2 separate regions of the Homo sapiens genome follow, and region 2 is linked to region 1. The links are contacts of gene promoters, found by promoter capture Hi-C in blood cells and fetal thymus (Javierre and others, 2016). All regions are on one chromosome and are shown on one strand. Each heading gives the region's core, a stretch centred on a gene start or on the middle of the fragment in contact. The rest is flanking DNA. Distances are from core to core; before and after follow the strand shown. Region 1 holds the start of INA (internexin neuronal intermediate filament protein alpha). Region 2 overlaps SFXN2 (sideroflexin 2).

Evidence for each region. Contacts are between HindIII fragments. The CHiCAGO score rates a contact against its expected background, and 5 or more counts as called.
Region 2: a fragment that was not itself captured here is called in contact with the fragment with the promoter of INA in region 1 in 1 of 17 cell types (endothelial precursors); the score reaches 5.2 in endothelial precursors.

What each region holds. Positions count from the first base shown.
Region 1 is chr10:103,275,502-103,279,270 of GRCh38, reverse strand. INA (internexin neuronal intermediate filament protein alpha) reads right to left here and starts at 2,133. Exons shown (of 3, transcript NM_032727.4): 1 at 995-2,133. The coding sequence starts at 2,059. RefSeq lists an enhancer at 1,114-1,718. The HindIII fragment of the contact is 2,856 bases long and covers 596-3,451 here.
Region 2 is chr10:102,728,871-102,732,817 of GRCh38, reverse strand. SFXN2 (sideroflexin 2) reads right to left here. Exons shown (of 12, transcript NM_178858.6): 5 at 3,424-3,499; 6 at 3,010-3,095; 7 at 1,035-1,095; 8 at 600-666. Among named protein-coding and RNA genes, the nearest start is that of WBP1L, 13 kb to the left of the region's middle. RefSeq lists enhancers at 2,498-3,270, 3,271-3,947. The HindIII fragment of the contact is 2,392 bases long and covers 168-2,559 here.

The DNA of each region.
Region 1 (3,769 bases), core at 884-3,383:
ACAGGAATTTTCAAGTGGGACCTCACAGCTGCTGAGCAAATTAAGTGTTTTTTGTTTAGTGCTAAGCCATCCATGAAAGCCAAAACTGATGTTGTCTATGAGGTGACCTTTGATTGCAGGTAGCCAAGACTGATGTGTTGGTGTTGCAGGAAAAAAAAAATCAAAGCAGTTAATTGCCTAGAGATTCATAACTGGGACACGAGACAGGAGAGACATAATTTCTGAGATGGGAAGAACTCGAGATCAGCACCGTGGACAGCGCCCCGACCTTTCACGTTTTGCCAACCGGCGAACGCTTTCTTAAGGAGGAAATGTCAGCTGGTGGACAAGGGAATCGTGTGTGTGTGTGTGTGTGTGTGTGTGTGTGCTGGTGGACAAGGGAATCGTGTGTGTGTGTGTGTTGGGGAGGTGGGTAGAGCAGGGTGGTTACTACTAGCTCAAGCATCGCTCAGCTTGTTGGCTCCCAATCTCTACTTTTTGGAGCGCGAAAGTCAAGAAAATGGGATAGGACTCTTCCCAGTTCAGGATCGCATTCTTCCTTCAGCCCTGAAGCAGACCATACTCCATAAATAACTTCTAGGGCGCACAGAAAGCTTTTCAAAGTCAACCAAACAAGCCAGATAGCCGAGACAGCACCGCCCACGTAACCTGCCCCGTTGGGCTCAGTCTTACTTTGGGTGGGGCACTGTTCTCCGGGTCGCCGGTGTGTGTAGGCCCGCTTGCTGACAGACAGGCAGAGTTGGGTTTTCGAACCTCAAATAAATTTAAGGGCTTCTTTGTTTGAAGGGCTGGGGCAGGGACATAAATGAGGGGCGTTCCCTAAAATTAACATTAAAGACTCCAGGGTTTTTTGTTAACCAGCGCCTCCAGCCGCGGCTCTTCTCTCCTCTCTTTTGCCCTCCCCTTAAGTCCTGGGGCCCAGTTTTACCAGAGGAAGAGGGTACGCGCGGAAGAGGGCAGGGCACCCCTCCCCACGCCCAGCCCCGGCCCTTACCTGGTAGCCAGCTACCTCGGCACTGTGCCGCTCCTCCAGCTCCAGGATCTGCCTCTCCAAGGACTCGTTGGCCCCGCGCAGGCCCTCGATCTCGATGGTGCGCGCCTGCAGCTGGCGCCGATACTCGTGGATCTCCTCGCGGCTGGCCCGGATGGCCTCGGTGCTGCGCGCCGCCTGCTCGTTCAGGTTGGCAAACTTGGACTTGTACCATTCTTCCGCGGACTGCAGGTTCTTAGCGGCCAGGGACTCATACTGGGCGCGGATCTCCCTCAGAGCCGAGGTCAGGTCTGGTTTAGCCACAGTCACGTCCACCTCGGCCGCGGCCTGCGACGACGCCTGCAGCGTGGCCAGCAGCTCGGCTACCTCCTCGTCGTGCACCTGGCGTACGAAGGCCAGCTCGTCCAGCAGCGACTCCACCTTCTTCTCCAGGTCCAGGCGGGCCAGCGTGGCGCCGTCCACGTCGCGCTGCTGCGCCTTCAGGGCGCGCTCGGCGCCTTCGCGTCCGCGGCTCTCCTCCTCGCAGCGCGCCCGCAGCCGCTGCACCTCCTCCGCCAGCCCGTCGCGCTCCAGCAGGGCCTGCGAGCGAGCCGAGCTGGCCTCCTCCAGCTGCGCGCGCAGGTCGCGCAGCTCGCGCTGGAAGAGCTCGCCGACGCGCGACGGCTCAGCGTGGCGCTGTCGCAGCGCGGCCAGCTCGGCCTCCAACGCGCGGTTCTGCGTCTCCAGCTGATGCACCTTCTCGATGAACACGGCGAAGCGGTCGTTGAGGCCCTGCAGCTGCTCCTTCTCGTTGGTGCGGATGATCTTGTACTCGTTGGTGCGCGCCGCCGCCTGGCTCAGGTCCAGCCCGTCGGACGCCGGCGGCCGGCGATAGGCCAGGCCGAGGCCGAGCGACGAGGCCGAGGAGCAGGCGGCCGAGGAGGCCACATTGCTGCGGGACAGCGACTGCGAGCGGAAGCCGCCCGCGCCGCCGGCCCCAGAGAGGCGGGCGGACAGGCGAGAGCCATCCCCGAACACCTTGCGGTAGGAGGAGGAGGAGCACAGGTAGTGCTCCGAGCCGAAGCTCATGGTGCCGGGATCGGGGCCGGACGTGCGGCTTCAACGCGAGCTACAGAAGAAAGGAGAGGTGCGGCAGGCAGGGCGCGGCGGGGCGGTGCGCCCGGCTTTTAAGGCGCCGGGGCTGGGGCGGCGCGCTGGGGGCGGAGCTCCTGCTCAGAGTCTGGCCGGGAGAGGGAAGGGGGGCATCCAGGAGTGGGGGCGGGGAGGCGCAGTGACTACCGCAGCTGCGCGCGCGACGACCTGGGGCGCCGGGACAGGGCCATCTGCATCGGAGTCGCCCCTTTCCGCAGCGCTTCTCCCCAAGAATCGACTGCTTCGGAAGTGACTCGAGCGGAGGGGTGCCTAAACGACTGAGGTTTCCCATCCGGAAACCACACAGCTCTGTCGCATCCCTTGACCCTATCCCCTCTTCTTTAACCGACTGGGAGGTTAGGGGTTTCTGGGAGGTGTCCCCTACACCCACCCTCATCCTGAGGTGAGGCGCACAGAAAGCCTTCCCGAGGGCGAGGTCGTGTTTTTCCAGTTACAGTGAGGACCTGCAGAGCGAGCCCTTGTCCCCTTCCTCAGGGTCCCCAAGGAGAAAGGTGGGAGATGCTACGTCAGAAAGCATCTCTCCAGCTGCCCCTCTGCAGCTCCTGGGGAGGCTCCGGGCGGAAAGATGTTCAGCAAGTGCCTCTCCCAGAAGAGAGGGGAGATCAGTAAAGAAAGTGACCCCGAGCTGCGGAGAGTGGGGAGAAGCGGCGGTACAGAGGGGAAAAGAGGCCAGACTTGGAGAAGCAGGAGGCGCTGGGAATTGCTGGGGCTCATCGTTAGGGCACTAAAGCATGGCACAGGCCAGGACCACAAGCTGCTGGAAAGGGGGCTGCAGACTTTTGTGTTTAGAGCATTATATTTTAAAATATTTCGAAAGGAGCATTTTTAAACCAGGAGATTTCACCTGTAAAGAAATTGGATTTCTGGCTTCTTCTGAAAATGGGAAGAGCTGGGATGCCCACAGTGGCAGAGGTGAGTTGCCCTTGCCATTTGTATAAGAAGTGTGCTCTCCTGTTCACTACAGTCCCTGCCATTCTCCACTGAATTACGCCCCCCTTCTTAATTCATTTACTTTACCTCTCTGACCCTGTGGGCATTTGAGATTTCAGTTTGTGTAAATCCAGCAGGGCAGGTTCTCAACTGGCTTCAGAGAGCCACTCCCTGTGCAGATCTCTTTTTGGAGAAAAGAGATCCCTGCAAAAAGATTAAACTCCAGGAGTGGGGGAGAGTGCTGGTGACTGAGCCGGCCTCTTCTGCCACATGGTAGGGTTGGTGGGGCAGGGGGTGAGAATCAAAGAATGGAATCTGAAAAGATGAAGGCTGGGAGGGGTCAGTGTGGCGTCTGTAATATGTACCCACTTGCAAGCTTCTAATATCATTCAGGATGTGGATATGGCTTTGGAGAGGGAGTAGGAAGACCTTTTTAGTTATATCCCAGAATTCCAGACTGAGGGCCTTTTATTGATATTGGAATCTTCAAGGACGTAGTTCTAGGATAAGTTTTACTTCATGGGGAAAGGGGAATATGCTTGGGACAGGCCACTAAAGGAAGGGTGAAAAGGGATCTTATGGGACTTTGGAGCATATCTCTTGGCTTTGTGCTTGATGTCATGGAAGATGGTCAGGCCCTGCCACAGCCTGCCCCTCTGGTTCCTCATCACAGACCAAAGCCTTGAGTTGGAGGGA
Region 2 (3,947 bases), core at 114-2,613, 550 kb after region 1:
CTCTCCCCAGGACTCCTTCTGAAGTCAGACCAGGAACCAAGTGGTTCCCTCTCCTTCAGCAGAAGCTCCAGAAAATACTTACCACTAGGCAGAACAGAAGAGCAAGTAGGCATGACCACCCCCAAACTTTCTCCCCAAAGTCCTGGCAGAACAGTGCTTCCCAAGCTTCTCAACCTGCACACTTGCAATATCAGGAAAACATGTGCTGCTAGGTCCAAAGCTACCTTCTCAAAACTCAAAAATGTATTTGTACGTTCGTGCAAACAAATTTTGCAATACACCCACTGCTGGAAGCAAACCAAAGCAGGGAATTTATTTTCTCTATCACTCTCCCTAGCACCCCACACTGTGTCTAACATTAAACACAAGGGCTTGACAAGTATTAATAAAATGAAAATAACTTTCTACCCCAAACCTTGGATGAACTGATGTTCTAGGAACTAGTGTGGTTCTTCTAGGCTTACAGCAATCAAGCAAAGCAGTTTGAGAAGCATGGCTGTAGAAGGTGGGCCCCACCTCCCACCCAAAAGCTGAGTGTGGCTGAGACCTCCACCCTGTGTCACAGGCTTCCCCAGGATGGAAGGGCTTCCCCATCTTACTCATCCCAGGAGCTGACATGGTGATCCGAGAAATAACTACTTGGGTGATGCCTATGGCCGCAGCTCTCTGAGGGCAGAAAATAGTAAGTTGTCAGAAATGATGTATCCAGTGTACATGTGCTGCACCAGGGGGCTGGGTCAGCATCATGGCCAAGTCTGAGATGGTAAAGGGGAAGGGAAGGACCCTCCAGTTGCTGAGTGACCTCACTTTATCCCCTCCCACCTAGCCAGGTTTTTATGGACCAGAAATGATGGAGAAAAGAGAGAAGGGGCCTGTTCTGAACAGAGAAACATGGGGAAAATTTGATAGGGAGTGAGGATGGAGCCAGAAAAGGCTTCTCAATCCTATATTGGTGCCTACTCTGACCACTAAGGAGGGGACAGGGTATGAGAGGGAATTCCCTCCTCCCACCCCAAAGGGAGGCCTCTGCTCACCCGGGAATGACCAATCTCATTTTCATTCCTGTCCTTCACGCAGATTCCCTTTATGAGCTCCCTAAACACAGACAGGAGTTAATGGACTTGGGAAAGGGGTGATGGAAGCCTGCCAGCCACATGACATGCCAGGGGACCAAGGCCAGGCCACTTAAGCTCCAGGAAGCCACCTCCTGTAGCCTGGGCCTTTGACCTTCCTTCTGCACTCCAATAAGCAGTATCTTAGGAGTGATCTAGGGCAGTGGCTGAGAGCGGTGGCCCTGGGCCCGGACTGTCTGGGTTGAGTCCTGAAACTGCAGGGGATGTGTGTGACCTTGAGCACAGTCTTTAACCCTCCCAAAGCCTCAGTTTTGCTTATCTGCAAAATGGGGATCATCCTGGCACCCACTTTACAGGACCTGGTAAGGATTAAATGAGATAATGGCTATGAAATACTTGGTCCAGCACCTGACACACAGTGTGATCACTCCACAAACAGTAGCTACTCTAGCTATTCCTTTTTTTTTTTTTTTTTTTTTTGAGACAATCGCACTCTGTCACCCAGGCTGGAGTGTAGTGGCATGATCTTGGCTCACTGCAACCTCCATCTCCTGGGTTCAAGCGATTCTCCTGCCTCAACCTCCCCAGTAGCTAGAATTACAGGCATGCGCCACCATGCCCGGCTAATTTTTGTTTTTGTTTTTTGGTTTTTTTTTTGTGATGGAGTCTCACTCTGTCACCCAGGCTGGAGTGCAGTGGTGCGATCTTGGCTCACTACAAGCTCCGCCTCCCGGGTTCACAACATTCTCCTGCCTCAGCCTCCCAAGTTGCCGGGACTACAGGCACCCGCCACCATACCTGGCTAATTTTTTGTATTTTTTAGTAGAGACGGGGTTTCACCGTGTTAGCCAGGATGGTCTCGATCTCCTGACCTCGTGATCCGCCCACCTCAGCCTCCCAAAGTGCTGGGATTACAGGCGTGAGCTACCACGCCTGGCCCTAATTTTTGTATTTTTAGTAGAGATGGGGTTTTGCCATGTTGGCCAGGCTGGTCTCAAACTCCTGGCCTCAGGTGATCCTCCTGCCTCAGCATCCCAAAGTGCTGGGATTACAGGCGTGAGCCACCGCACCCAGCCCACCCCAGCTGTTCTTCTCAGGCCAGTTCTTGACAGCACTCAACTCAAGCCCCGGTAGGTGGCAGGGACTCATTCTCCTGTTAGGAAAGGGCCACTGGATGGGGAAGGAAAGATGAATGGAGCAGCATGTGTGCACAACTATTCTGGTAGTGCTTCCTCTACAAAGACTAGTGTGAACATTTTCCATTTGTTGGTAGTCCCAAGAAAATGTGGCTTGTAGATATTGATGATGATGACAATGGTAGAAATAACAGTGAACACTTATGTAGCATCTCTTATGTTCCAGGTGCTATTTTGAGTGCTTTACATATATTACATCATTAAAACCTCATAACAGAGATTTCTCTAGTCAAGAAATAAGAACTGTGAGACACAATGAGTTTCTCCTTTACCTTTTCTCCTGAAAAGCTTAGAGTTGGGTGCCTGGAAAACTTCTGTCTACTCCTCTGGCTTCTTTCAAAGCTTCTGGGTTCTATGCTATCTTTAGACACCTCAGCCTGCTACATTTCATTCTGTATGCCATCCCCAGGGCTTGGGAAGTAGGAGGAGTTCACAATTTTAACACAGGTCCAAAAGGACATGATCCAGTGTAAAACTCCACAGGTCCACCCTGTCTTTCCCATCCCACATCACCCAGGAGAGGACTCCCACGGGACTCAACACACGGCCTAACCCAAAGTCACCCACCACTCCCGGGGCCATCACCATGGGAGCTGCCAATCCCAGGGCCCTTCAGAGGCTCAGCCCAGCAGCCCTCCCCATGCCCACCGCAGTCCCCAGAAGCCACCCACTGCTTTGGTTTCTTGCCCCTTTTCTGCTAATCTTGTGGTTTGTAGGGAGAAAAAGGGGCCTTTACTCACTGCTGTCGCATCATGGGGATATTGACACAGTTAGCCGCAGCCACAGCGGCAAAGGGCACCCAGCGGCCCACCAAGGGCGGCGCTTTCTGTTGGGGGAAGAGAACAGTAGGAGTTGTTCAGAAGCGCTGGAAGATGGGAGGGGAGGGGGCTGAACGACTAGAATACAAAAAAGAAAACTAGGCCTTGCTACCGCCACACATCCAGACACCCAGTCTGGGAACCCCAAACTCCCTCAAAGGCCCAAGAAGAACCAACCTGGGGACGGCCCTGGTGTATTTCTCATCACTTGGCCAGCCGGGCTCTGGCCATTCCCAACTCACCCAGCCTGGGGAACTGTCCCTGGGGGAAGGACGTTTTCCCTAGGACTCTGCTGCCCCCGCGTGGCCACCATGCTGCAGCGGCCCCAGACCATACCTTTGTCAACATGTTCATGCCCACAGCCGTGGCCACAGCAGTGGTTGTGGCTGTGAAGTAGGAAAGGGCCATCTGCCTGGGGGAGGAGAGAGATGCTTGGGAGTGGGGCCCCTGCCGGCTGAGGGCCAAACCACGGGCTTCAGGGAGAAAGTCGGCTGGCGAGGCTTCGTGCGTGAAAACCGCACAGGATCTGTCCCCAGCCTTATCTTGTGACCCTCTCCCCCTCACTCACAGTGCTCCAGCCCCCTTGGTCTTCTTTCAGTACTGTGAACATGCCAAGTTCCTCCCTGCCTCGGAGCCTCTGCACACGGCTGCTCCCTATGCGGGGAGGTGTTCCCTGGGCTCTTGGGTCATTCATCCCTCATCCTTCAGGACAGTTGAAATGTCGTCTTCACAGATGGGACTGCTCTAAGTGGCCTAACTACACAGACACCGCTCTGCTGTTCTCTGCCTTGCAACCCTGGTTTTCTGGGTGGTTTTTTTTGTTTGTTTTGAGACTGATCTTAGGCAATCTGCCTGCCTCA